Linked DNA regions of Homo sapiens: region 2 is linked to region 1. Evidence: promoter capture Hi-C in 16 types of primary human blood cells and fetal thymus (Javierre and others, 2016). All regions are on one chromosome and are shown on one strand. The core of a region is centred on a gene start or on the middle of the fragment in contact, and the rest is flanking DNA. Distances in the headings are between cores, read along the strand shown. Region 1 holds the start of COG1 (component of oligomeric golgi complex 1). Region 2 has its middle 5.2 kb from the start of RPL38.

What was found. The method cuts DNA at HindIII sites, captures the fragments that hold promoters and counts their contacts. A CHiCAGO score of 5 or more calls a contact.
Region 2: a contact is called between a fragment that was not itself captured here and the fragment with the promoter of COG1 in region 1, in 2 of 17 cell types (activated CD4 T cells and naive CD4 T cells). The highest score is 5.7, in activated CD4 T cells.

What each region holds. Positions count from the first base shown.
Region 1 is chr17:73,189,285-73,194,624 of GRCh38, forward strand. COG1 (component of oligomeric golgi complex 1) reads left to right here and starts at 3,771. Exons shown (of 14, transcript NM_018714.3): 1 at 3,771-4,100. The coding sequence starts at 3,786. RefSeq lists enhancers at 2,998-3,757, 3,043-3,092, 3,723-4,002 and a silencer at 4,053-4,262. The HindIII fragment of the contact is 5,644 bases long and covers 2,484-5,340 here.
Region 2 is chr17:74,195,740-74,201,135 of GRCh38, forward strand. No RefSeq gene overlaps it. Among named protein-coding and RNA genes, the nearest start is that of RPL38, 5.2 kb to the right of the region's middle. RefSeq lists enhancers at 690-1,190, 1,191-1,691 and a silencer at 4,171-4,220. The HindIII fragment of the contact is 1,277 bases long and covers 2,864-4,140 here.

The DNA.
Region 1 (5,340 bases), core at 2,521-5,020:
CTAGAGCCAGGGGATCTGAAGACAGGCACCTGTGTGAACTCACGCAGGTTGCTTGATGCTAAAGGTTATCACACAACACACATGAACTCATCCCTATACCAGAACTAAACTATGGCAATAAGGCGAAAAGGTGCCTCTTTCACTCAGGTACCTCCTAATACCTTGAGAAAAAAAGGCTCCAGGTTCTCATCTCTGTCTTGCTGTCCCCGGCACAGTGCCTGGCCCGGCTGTGGCAGCTGAGGTCTTTGCCCCTGATCCGTGGTTTTGATGGTCCCAGCTGATATGCAGAAGGCAGAGGAAGGGGGTGGTGCTGTCCTGGGAGGCAGAGGACAAGGAAAGGAGCCATGGAGAGGAAAGAGTTAAAGACACATTTCCTCCAGGGCCAGGAGCTTTTCCAGTGACCAGGCAGTCAGGTGACAGCTTCTGTCAGTGCTCAGTTCTGCAGGCAGAGGAACAACAGTGGCATCTTCAGGCCAGTCAGATGAACTTGGCCAGGGAAATACAGAGGAAAGGCAGGGAACACCCTGATTTCAAACCACACTCTGGACTAGGTGAGGTGGCTCACACCTGTAACCCGAGCACTTTGGGAGGCTGAGGTGGGAGGATCCCTCTAGCCCAAGAGTTTGAGACCAGCCTGGGCAACAGAGTGAGGCCCTGTCTTTACACAAAAATTAAAAAATTAGCCGGGCATGGTGGTGCACACCTGTTAATCCCAGCTACTAGGGAGGCAGAGGTGGGAGGATTGCTTGAGCCCAAGAGGTGGAGGCTTCAGTGAGCCGTGATTGCACCCCTGCACTCCAGCCTGGGCAACAGTGAGACCCTGTCTCAGAACACACACAAACACACACAGACACACACACACACTGCAGTGTTGACAGCTGGCCAGTTTGTCTTTTCTCTACCTGACTCAGAACACACACACACACACACACACACACACACACACACACTGCAGTGTTGACAGCTGGCCAGTTTGTCTTTTCTCTACCTGAGCTTACAGGTATTGTGCACAAGCGCAAGGACCATCCCATACAAAGCCCTGGGCCCCCCACTATCCCTGATATGTTGACATTTCTCCCCTTGCTGTAAGAAAGGCTTCAACCAAACTCTCATGGAGCTGGAACCTTAGTGCAGTGTATATCAGTTAGGGCTAGGGCAAACCAGGGAAACCGATTTTGATTTTCAAAGAAACAAAATTGATCAGTAAGACACTGCACAGTTCATAGAATCTCTGGGAAAGATGGGGAGGCAGGTTCAGGGGACAGGCAGGAAGGAAGGAAGGGAAACAGAACATTTAAAACCTAGACGAGCACACCACATGGTGATTCTGTCGAGGACGTCATTGTGGGTGCCCACGGCTGCCACCAGCACCACCGCCAGCATTAGCAGCTGGGAGCTGGAGCTAAGTTCACTGCCCTTGCTGTCCTTAGGGAGTGGATGTTGCCGGTGATACCTGTGCCACCACCAAAATGCAATCGCCCCTGTCACCTGCGATTTTTTTTTTTTTTTTTTTTTGAGACAGGGTCTTGTTCTGTTGTCTAGGCTGGAATGCAGTGGCCCAATCATGGCTCACTGACGCAGTCTCGACCTCCAGAGGCTCAAGTGATCCTCTTGCCTCACTTGCCTCTTGTCAAGTGGCTGGGACTACAGGTCCACAGGCCCACACCACTACTCCCGGCTAATTTTCTTTTTCTTTTTTTTTTTGAGACGGAGCCTCACTCTGTCGCTCAGGCTGGAGTGCAGTGTCTCGATCTCGGCTCACTGCAACCTCCGTCTCCCAGGTTCAAGTGATTCTCCTGCCTCAGCTTCCTGTCTGCTGCCTCAGCCTCCCGAGTAGCTGGGATTATAGATGTGCGCCACCACGCCCAGCTAATTTTTGTATTTTTAGTAGAGACAGGGTATCACCATGTTGGCCAGGCTGGTCTCGAACTCCTGACCTCATGTGATCCGCCTGCCTCGGCCTCCCAAAGTGCTGGGATTACAGGCATGAGCCACCCGGCGCGCGCCCCTTTTTTTGTATTTTTTTGTAAGGACGGGGTTTGGCCGTGTTGCCCAGGCTGGTCTTGAACTCCTGGGCTCAAGGGATCCACACGCCTTGGGCTCCCAAAGTGCTGGGATTACAGCCTGCTTCTTAATGTCACTAACTCTTCACCCAAGTCCTAGGCGCTTGTGCCTGCTGTGCCAGTCCCAGGCCGCAGGCTGGCACCGTAGCTATAAAGGGCGCCAGAAAAAAAGATTTTGCTAGATAGCGATGAATTCCCCAATCACAGAAAGGAGATACTGCGGATGCTTATCAGCCGAATACCAGTAAGTGTCCCTTGCAGAATGGGATTAGAGACTGCAAACTGCAGGCCTGCCAACAGAGGGTGCTCTGTGGGAAATTATGTGAAAACGTAGAAAAGAGCGCGAGCCAGTAATTTAAAAATCGACGTCCAAATACTCACTGGGTCACCTATCAGCTATGTAATTTGGGCAGGTAAATAAGCTTTTGTTTCTTTTTTTTTTTTCCTCATAAATGGACTAGGAATATTACTCCTACCTACCTGGCATGGCCGATGTGCGAGAAAATGAGATAATCTCGTGGACAGGCTCTGAAAACTGCACTTTTACTGAGTAAAAAACCCTTTGCCTCTCCGGGCCCCCGTTTCCCCATCTGTAAAATGAGTCTGTAAAGTGAGAATGATACTCCCTACGCCGCAAGGCTCTTGCGGGTTAAACTGGAATATTATAAATGCACCATTTATTTGCAGATTGAAATTCTGTGCGTCCGGAGGTGGCGGGTGGGAGAGGGAATGAGCAGGGATGCAGGGTAGGCCCTGAGTTGCTGGGGGCTCAGCATGGCCGCTGCGCACATTGCATCATTTTGTCGACACTGGTGTGGGTGAAATCTTCCAAAAGAAATTAAAACAGAAAAAAAAAAAAAGAAGGGTCTGGGACTTAGCAGAAACAAGCCACAATCTCCAGATTCTACTATTCCTGGGCCACGTGAGGAGCGCCCACCCGTCTGGCGCTGCGTTCCCCGGGGCGTCCCAGCCTCTCCCGCCCAGCCCGCCGCCCTCCTCCCCCATGGCCACCAAGGTCAGGCTCTCGCAGGGAAAACGTCTTCAGGGGCTAAACATCGGTTTTAAACGAAATGGAAAACCTCCAACACGAATCAACAGCAGAGGAAAAGCAGACGCCAAACAAGCGCTCAGAACCCCTTCAGGGGCGGCGTGGTAGCTCTTCCCGGGGAACAGCGAGGGGCGCGGATGTCCCTCTTCCTAAAACTGCACGCGGGGTGCGATCCGAGACCCAGCGGCGGCGAGCGCGCCCGAGTCTGCTCGCGGGCGCCAGGCGCGCGGAGAGCGGCGGCTGCGCCTGCGCCAACGCCGTCAGTCCGCGGGGCCCGATCCCGACACCTAACTCCACAGAGAAGCTCTGCTCCTAAGGGAAAGGGAAGACTTCAGCCACAGTTTCGCAGCCAACCTGGCGACCTCACCTCTCTGGCGACCTCACTTCCCAGCCGGCTCCGTTTAAGAAAACCCCGCGCAGGACCGCGCCCGCCCCCGCGCCCGCGCCCGCCCCCGCCCCCTCGCGCCCGCCCCCTCGCGCCCGCCCCCTCGCGCCCGCCCCCTCGCGCCCGCCCCCTCGCGCCCGCCCCCTCGCGCCCGCCCCCTCGCGCCCGCCCCCTCGGGTAACAAACATGGCCCCCGGCGGGGCGGAAGCGCTTCCGCCCCCAACGAAGATGGCGGAGGGGGCGGGACTAAAAGGGCGTAGGTAGATCGCCGGGGGCTGACGAGTGCACCATGGCCACCGCGGCAACCTCACCCGCGCTGAAGCGGCTGGATCTGCGCGACCCTGCGGCTCTTTTCGAGACGCATGGAGCGGAGGAGATCCGCGGGCTGGAGCGCCAGGTTCGGGCCGAGATCGAGCACAAGAAGGAGGAGCTGCGGCAGATGGTGGGCGAACGGTACCGCGACCTGATCGAGGCGGCCGACACCATCGGCCAGATGCGCCGCTGCGCCGTGGGGCTAGTGGACGCCGTGAAGGCCACCGACCAGTACTGCGCCCGCCTCCGCCAGGCCGGCTCGGCCGCGCCCCGGCCACCGCGGGCCCAGCAGGTCAGTCCCCGTGCCCCCACCCTGCGACCCGCAGGCGGGTCCCGGAGCCCCTGGCCTTGCAGGTCAACCCCGCCCCCCTCTGTCAGTCCCAGACCCCGCGAGTCCTCACCTTCCTTAGCCAGGAGCCTATCCGCCCCTCACCCTTTGGGCCCCCCTCAGAGGACAGTGCCAGCCTTCCTTGCACATATGCGGCTGCTGATCCGTTCTGGAAATGCCATTCAACAGTTTCTTCAGGCGCTTTCCCCCGACTTCCGGGCCTTGATTCCTACACCTCACTGGGCTCCTTTCAATTTTAGCGGAAAACGCCAGGAGTTTCTGTCTTGACAGTTCAACGCTCACCTATATAACATGTCCTGACATTGTTTTTCCTCAGGTTTCTCCCCTATGTTGACACCTGCACTCCAAGTCATTTCTTCCTCATCCCAACCTTCCCCTTATCTCCCCAAGAATAACTTCCACAACCCCAAATAGCTGTTCTACCCTTTGGGAGTTGTTGAGGGTACCAGCTATCAAGCCCTTAACTTTATGTATGTATGTGACAGGGTCTCCCAAAGTGCTGGGATTACAGTCATGAGCCACCACAGCCGGCCAAGCCCTTACCTTTTAATAGCTGAACATTTTCATTTTCAGAACTAAGGCTTTTTTCATTCAGGTTCTCCTTATCCCGTGTTCTTCCCCCCAAACGCTATTGATTAGACACAATGAGGAAGGATGGGAGGTAAACAAACACATCCTCATATTGGAGCTGCAGCTTGCGTTCCTAAAGAATTTTTATTGGCCGGGTGCGGTGGCTCACGCCTGTAATCCCAGCACTTTGGGAGGCCGAGGCGGGTGGATCACGAGGTCAGGAGATCCAGACCATCCTGGCTAACACGGTGAAACCCCGTCTCTACTAAAAATACACAAAATTAGCCAGGCGTGGTGGCCGGCGCCTGTAGTCCCAGCTACCTGGGAGGCTGAGGCAGGAGAATGGCATGAACCCGGGAGGCGGAGCTTGCAGTGAGCCGAGATCGCGCCACTGCACTCCAGCCTGGGCCACAGAGCGAGACTCTGTCTCAAAAAAAAAAAAAAAAAGAATTTTTATTTCTTTATTTTTTGAGACAGGATCTCGCTCTGTCACCCAGGCTGGAGTGCAGTGGCGCGATCTCGGCTCACTGCAACCTCCGCCTCCCGGGTTCAAGCGATTCTCCTGCCTCAGCCACCCGCGTAGCTGGGATTACAGGCACCTGCCACCATGTCC
Region 2 (5,396 bases), core at 2,252-4,751, 1.0 Mb after region 1:
GCCTCCACTTCCTGCTAGGACCTCGAAGGATCCCTCAGGTGGGAGGCGAACAGCATTTGGGGGAGACAGCCCCTCCTCTCCTGATTGTTTCTTCTCTGGTTTCCTTCTCTGTTGGGCCCCCATGGACAGATGAGCCCAGGGTGAGGGTGGCACAAAGTTATCTCGGGGGGACAGGGACAGCCCTTCTGCCCCTCGAACATTTCCCTCCCAAGCCTCTGCACCAGCTCTCCCACACCCCAAGCCAGGCTGGCCAGCCCTAGGCAGGACACAGAGGGGACCCACGACCACTCAGGCCTCCTCACAAGGGCCGCTGGCCCACAGCTGGAAGGAGGGAGCAAAGTAGGAGGTCAGGCGCGTTGGCTCATGCCTGTGATCCCAGCACTTTGAGAGGCTGAGGTGGGCAGATCACCTGAGGTCAGGAGTTCCACACCAGCCTGGCCAACATGGCAAAACCCCGTCTCTATTAAACATACAAAATTATCTGGGCGTGGTGGTGTATGCCTGTAATCCCAGCTAATTAGGAGGCTGTGGCAGGAGAATCGCTTGAACCCGGGAGGCAGAGGTTGCAGTGAGCCGAGATCATGCCATTGCACTCCAGCCTGGGCAATGAGACTGAAACTCCGGCTAAAAAAAAAAGAAAAGAAAAAAGAAATAAGGGAACAAAGCAGCACCTGGGGGCTCCACTGAAAAATGAGAGGGGCAGAAGGCAGGAACCTCTGGCAGAGGGAAGAGCAGGTGCCCAGCGGGCAGGACGGGCTCACAGACAGGGTGAGCAGGAGGAGCAGACACACAGGCAGCAGCGGGGGACAGAGGAGAGGCAGGCAGGGCTGACTGAGTGTAGGCTGCGGGGCTCTCCATGGGGTCCACTCTTGCAGCCCAGGGAGCGGGTCAGGGACGCGGCTTCAGCCGTCAGATGCCAGAGATTCCCAGGAGCAGTTACCAGGGAGCAAATCGCTGTGCTCCCGTGGAGATGCTGCAACCCACCCGCCTGCGCCCACCCAAAGGACACTCCACCCACACGACCCGGGTTATGAGATCACCTCCATTTCACCCTGTGCCCCCATGCCACGCCCCAGCCCAGCCCACACCCACGCCCTCCATCCCGGCACTAACACCAGCAAGGCCAGAGGTCTGCCCCGCCCTCCTCTCCCTCCTGCAGGGGGTCGGAGCCTGGGGGAGAGAAGCCCGCCCACGGGGTCACCAGCCTTCCCCTGGGGGACTCTGCCTAGCAGAAGGACCCACAACCCGTCCAGCACTACTGCTAAGACGCTCGTGTCATTCACGCCCGGGACGCTCGTGATTTATGGACTTTAATTTCCCCAGATCCTCAGTGGCTTCCCTCCTTTCCCTCTGGCCTGTCAGGGTGTTTGTCTCCCAGCACCCCCAGCACCCCCCTCCCTGGTTTTTAATTTGAAGCATCTGTCTGGAGCATCCCGAGGAGGAGACGCCTGCGAGGCTGAATGCATGAAGCAGCTGACAGCTCTATTGATTTCCTCTCTCCCACCGCATAATGCAAGATATATACAAGCCGATAGGCCAGCCCTCTTTGAAGGGTCTGTGCCCTTTTTTCTCACTCTGATGTCCCCTCACCCTGGCACATGTTGATCTATAGGAGGGGTGCTTGTCCCTCATGCTGAAAATGCATTCTCCTCTGCCTCAGTGTTATTTTTCTCACTGTTGGTGGATGAGGCCTCATCTGTCCTTTCTGTGCTTGCAGATTGGACACCCAGGAAGCAGTTCTTGGAGTGAAAGGGGCCAGTAGGGAAAAGCAGGGGAGCTGGGGAGGTGTCATCTGTCAAAACTGACTCTGCCCCCCATGGAGGAGATGGTGCGGGGCTTTCGGAGTGGCCCTCCCCAGCCTCACAGGTCTGGGCAAGGAGGGCTGCTTTCCACTCCAGCCCACGCCTCCACCAGGTTGCAGGTTTTTTCCTCCAAATCCATTGGCAACTCTTGCCTGGGAATCACATTCAATTAACAGCCACAGAGCCGGCTGCTGGGCTAAGCATTTTTCTATTCTTGGTGCCTTCTGGTTTCTCATAAGCAGGGCAGCTGCAGACAGTTGTGCAGGCTGCACACAACTGGCCGCAGTGGCCTGGATCCTAGCAGGAATTAATACTCAACAGAAACTGAGGCTCAGAGCTCTCAGGAGACTCATTCAAATTCTCCCAGCCAGACACTGAATTTGAATCTAAGACTTCCTGCCTCCAGGAAGAGTTTTCCTCCCACCCTATCATACTGCCTCCTCCAGGAAGACCACCTAGATTGATACCACTCAATCTGATGCTTCTTTCATTCTTGTCACCCTGGAACTTATTTGCTATGAGGGTTTGCACATACTAGCAGGCTCCTCTGGAGGTGTTGGGTTTTCAGGACAAAGCAATATTCTACTCCTCTTTGTGAATCACCATCGATGTTACTCCTGGAGGACTTTCCTGGCCTGTATCACCCCTTCCCCAGCCTGTATCAGACCCCCATGGCCTCCATCTGGTCCCACAATTCCAAACACTTCCTACACCTAGGGCCCAACCTCATCACTGCCTCCCTTACTATTCTGTGTGTCCCTTGAGATGGGAACAGGGACAGGATCTTATTTGTGCATCTTCACCACTTAGGTACCTAGAGGCACCTTAAAGACGTGCCCCATGCCTCTCCTCCCTTCTCCCACCCCAGCTCCCCACCCCATCCCGAGGCTTCCCACTGGAAAAGGTGTCCCCACCCGCTCTGGGCTGACATCAGCTGCCTTGCCTCCCAGAGTAGGGACGAGGCTCCTGGTAACTAGAGCCGACTGCACCCCGCCTTGCCACCCGTTGAGCCCGGGCAGAGGCAGCACCCAGGGCTGTCCTCCTTACAGCATCCACAGAAAAGCTTTGAAACCCTAGGCTAGGTGCAAATAAGACAGTAGCCTGAGCCCATGAGTTACCTGGCCATAGGCACAGAACAGAGATATCCATTATGAAAAAGAATGTCCTCGTGGTTTTGGCCTTCTAGTCAAGCGGCTCTCAACCACAAGTGGCATTGCCCTGCTTTCCCCCGGGGACATTTGGCAATGTCTAGAGACATTTTCGTTTCTCACAATTGTGAGGGTCTAGCATTAACCAAGTAGGGGCCTGGGATCCTCACAAGGCTCAGAAGAGCCTCAGCCCCTAAACAAAAAGTGAAAGTGACCCCATCCACAAAGGTCAACCATGTGGGGCGTGAGAACCCCTGTTCCAGTCTGCCTGGCCTTTCTTCGTGGCTTCTAGCTCAGCAGCAGGGAGAATGTTAAACCTGTCTACCTCTCAGGGGCTCACAGACTCTTTGGGGGCCAGGGGGAGAGTGAGTAACCAGTATCCCTTTAAACTCACCATCTTCAGTTTCTAAAAAAACACCAGTGGGCCGGGTACAGTGGCGCAAGCCTGTAATCCCAGTACTTTGGGAGGCCAAGGCAGGAGGATCGTTTGAGGCCAGGAGTTAGAGTCCAGCCTGGGCAACACAGGGGACCCCATTTCTAAAAAAAAGAGGAAAGAAAGAAAGAGAGAGAGAGAGAAAGAAAGAAAGAAAGAAGGAAAGAAAGGAAGAAAGGAAGAAAGAAAGAATATAAGACCACATGCTTGTGGTCCCAGCTACTTGGGAGGCTGAGGCAGGAGGACCACTTGAGCCCGAGAGGTCGAGGCTGCAGCGAGCAGCGATTGCACCTCTGCACTCCAGCCTAGGCAAGAGAGCAAGGCTCTGTCTCAAAAAAATAAATAAATAAAGCACCAACTCACCCCGCCACCCGACTCCCCATCCTTTCCCAGGTAAATGAGTTCAGTGCCAGGGACCAGAGTCCCGGCCTGCTGACAACCTTTAAGGTTTAATAAACAACTCCCTTCCGAGATGGTTTAAAGGCCAGCCCTGCCGGCAGCCAAAGGCAGGGGCCTCTTGGAGATTAAATGAGATGGTGGATATGAAAGCACTCCACCAGGTATGAAATCGCATACAAATATTCCCGATAATTTATGGACATTTCTCTCCGCCTGAGCTCCCAGGAGTCGCGCGGAAGGGGCTATTCCGTTTCCAGCCGCGGCCTCAGCGCCCCCGTGCGGCCGCCAGTGGACACAGCACCCAGGGCGGGCCTTGCCTGAGAGGTGCGGGTTGGAGCTTTGCGAATCACCCCATAGAAGCTTCGCTGCAACCCTGCGAGGCGGGAGAGAGGCGACAGCACACACACTCCCACCCCCAAAACATACACACACGTGCACGCACACACACACAGAAACCAGGAAACTAAGGCTCGGAAGATCACCGCTGGGCAGTGAAGGAGGTGCTATGGACCCCAGGGATGGGCCCTTGGGTGACGATGACCACAGCGGGCATAAGTGAGGCTGGAAGGGGAACTCCTGAAGGCCCTGAACTCCAGCCCAACTCCCCCTCCAGCCTCTTCTCCCCGACCCCCTGCCCCAGACCCTCCTTACCTCTGCCACACTGAACTTCCCACTCATTCTCAGAAACACCCCGCATTCTCCTGACCCTGGGCTGACGTCAGCTCCCTCCCTCCTTCTGTCTGGAAGTCCTTCTCCGGGCAAGCTGCTGCGCACCCCTCTCGGAGGCAGCAGACTGTGTCCCCTCCTCCACGAAGCCTTCCAGGACTCCCTCAGGAGGAATTAGACCCCTAGCCTCTGGGCATCCTCCACAGCTTATTATGGGATCCCAACAGTCATGAGTGTTTGGAGCAGGAACCGCATTCTGCTTATTCCCAAGCCCAGCCCGATGTTCACCAAGTGAACGGAATGGATTGAATGGGGGAAAATCCTGGAGGTTGGGAAGTCTTCCCAGCCATGTGCCGTGCCAGCCCTCTGCCCACCTGCGAGCTGGGGCATTGGGGTTTTTTTGACCCATCCTGGTCCTCTTTCCAATGTGTCCCTGAAAACTGAAGAGAGAACTCTAAACCATTTGGCCTTCAGAGGTGGCCAGAGTGGGGCTGCTGGAGGGAGGAGGGGAGGCCCGGTGACTTCTGAGGCCCTCTCTGCCCAGAGCCAGCAGAGTGAGGGAAGGGAAGGAAGGAAAAGGGTTGGATTGTGTCCTGTAGCTCCGGACATGCCCTCTGAGCCTCTCCTGCCTCCAGCCATGCTGCAACACACTGCTTGAGACCCTCCCTACCGCCTCTTGACAACAGCAATAGCCCTCACCATCCCACAGCTGCCAGCACTGGACATTCCAGCCTACCAATGGCCAGAGCGACCATAACAGGCAGCCTGGGCCATCCTGCCCTCGAGTCCGGGGCTTTCCTCTCCTGCAGGATCCACCCTAGGCCCTGGAGAGTTTTGTTTCATGTGTATATGGGAGTCATCAGGGAGGCTCATGTCCAGGTCAGCATCTGCTCAAGGTCTCAGGCTGTGGCACTCAGGGCCTAGGCTCTGCCCCCCTTGGTCTCTGAC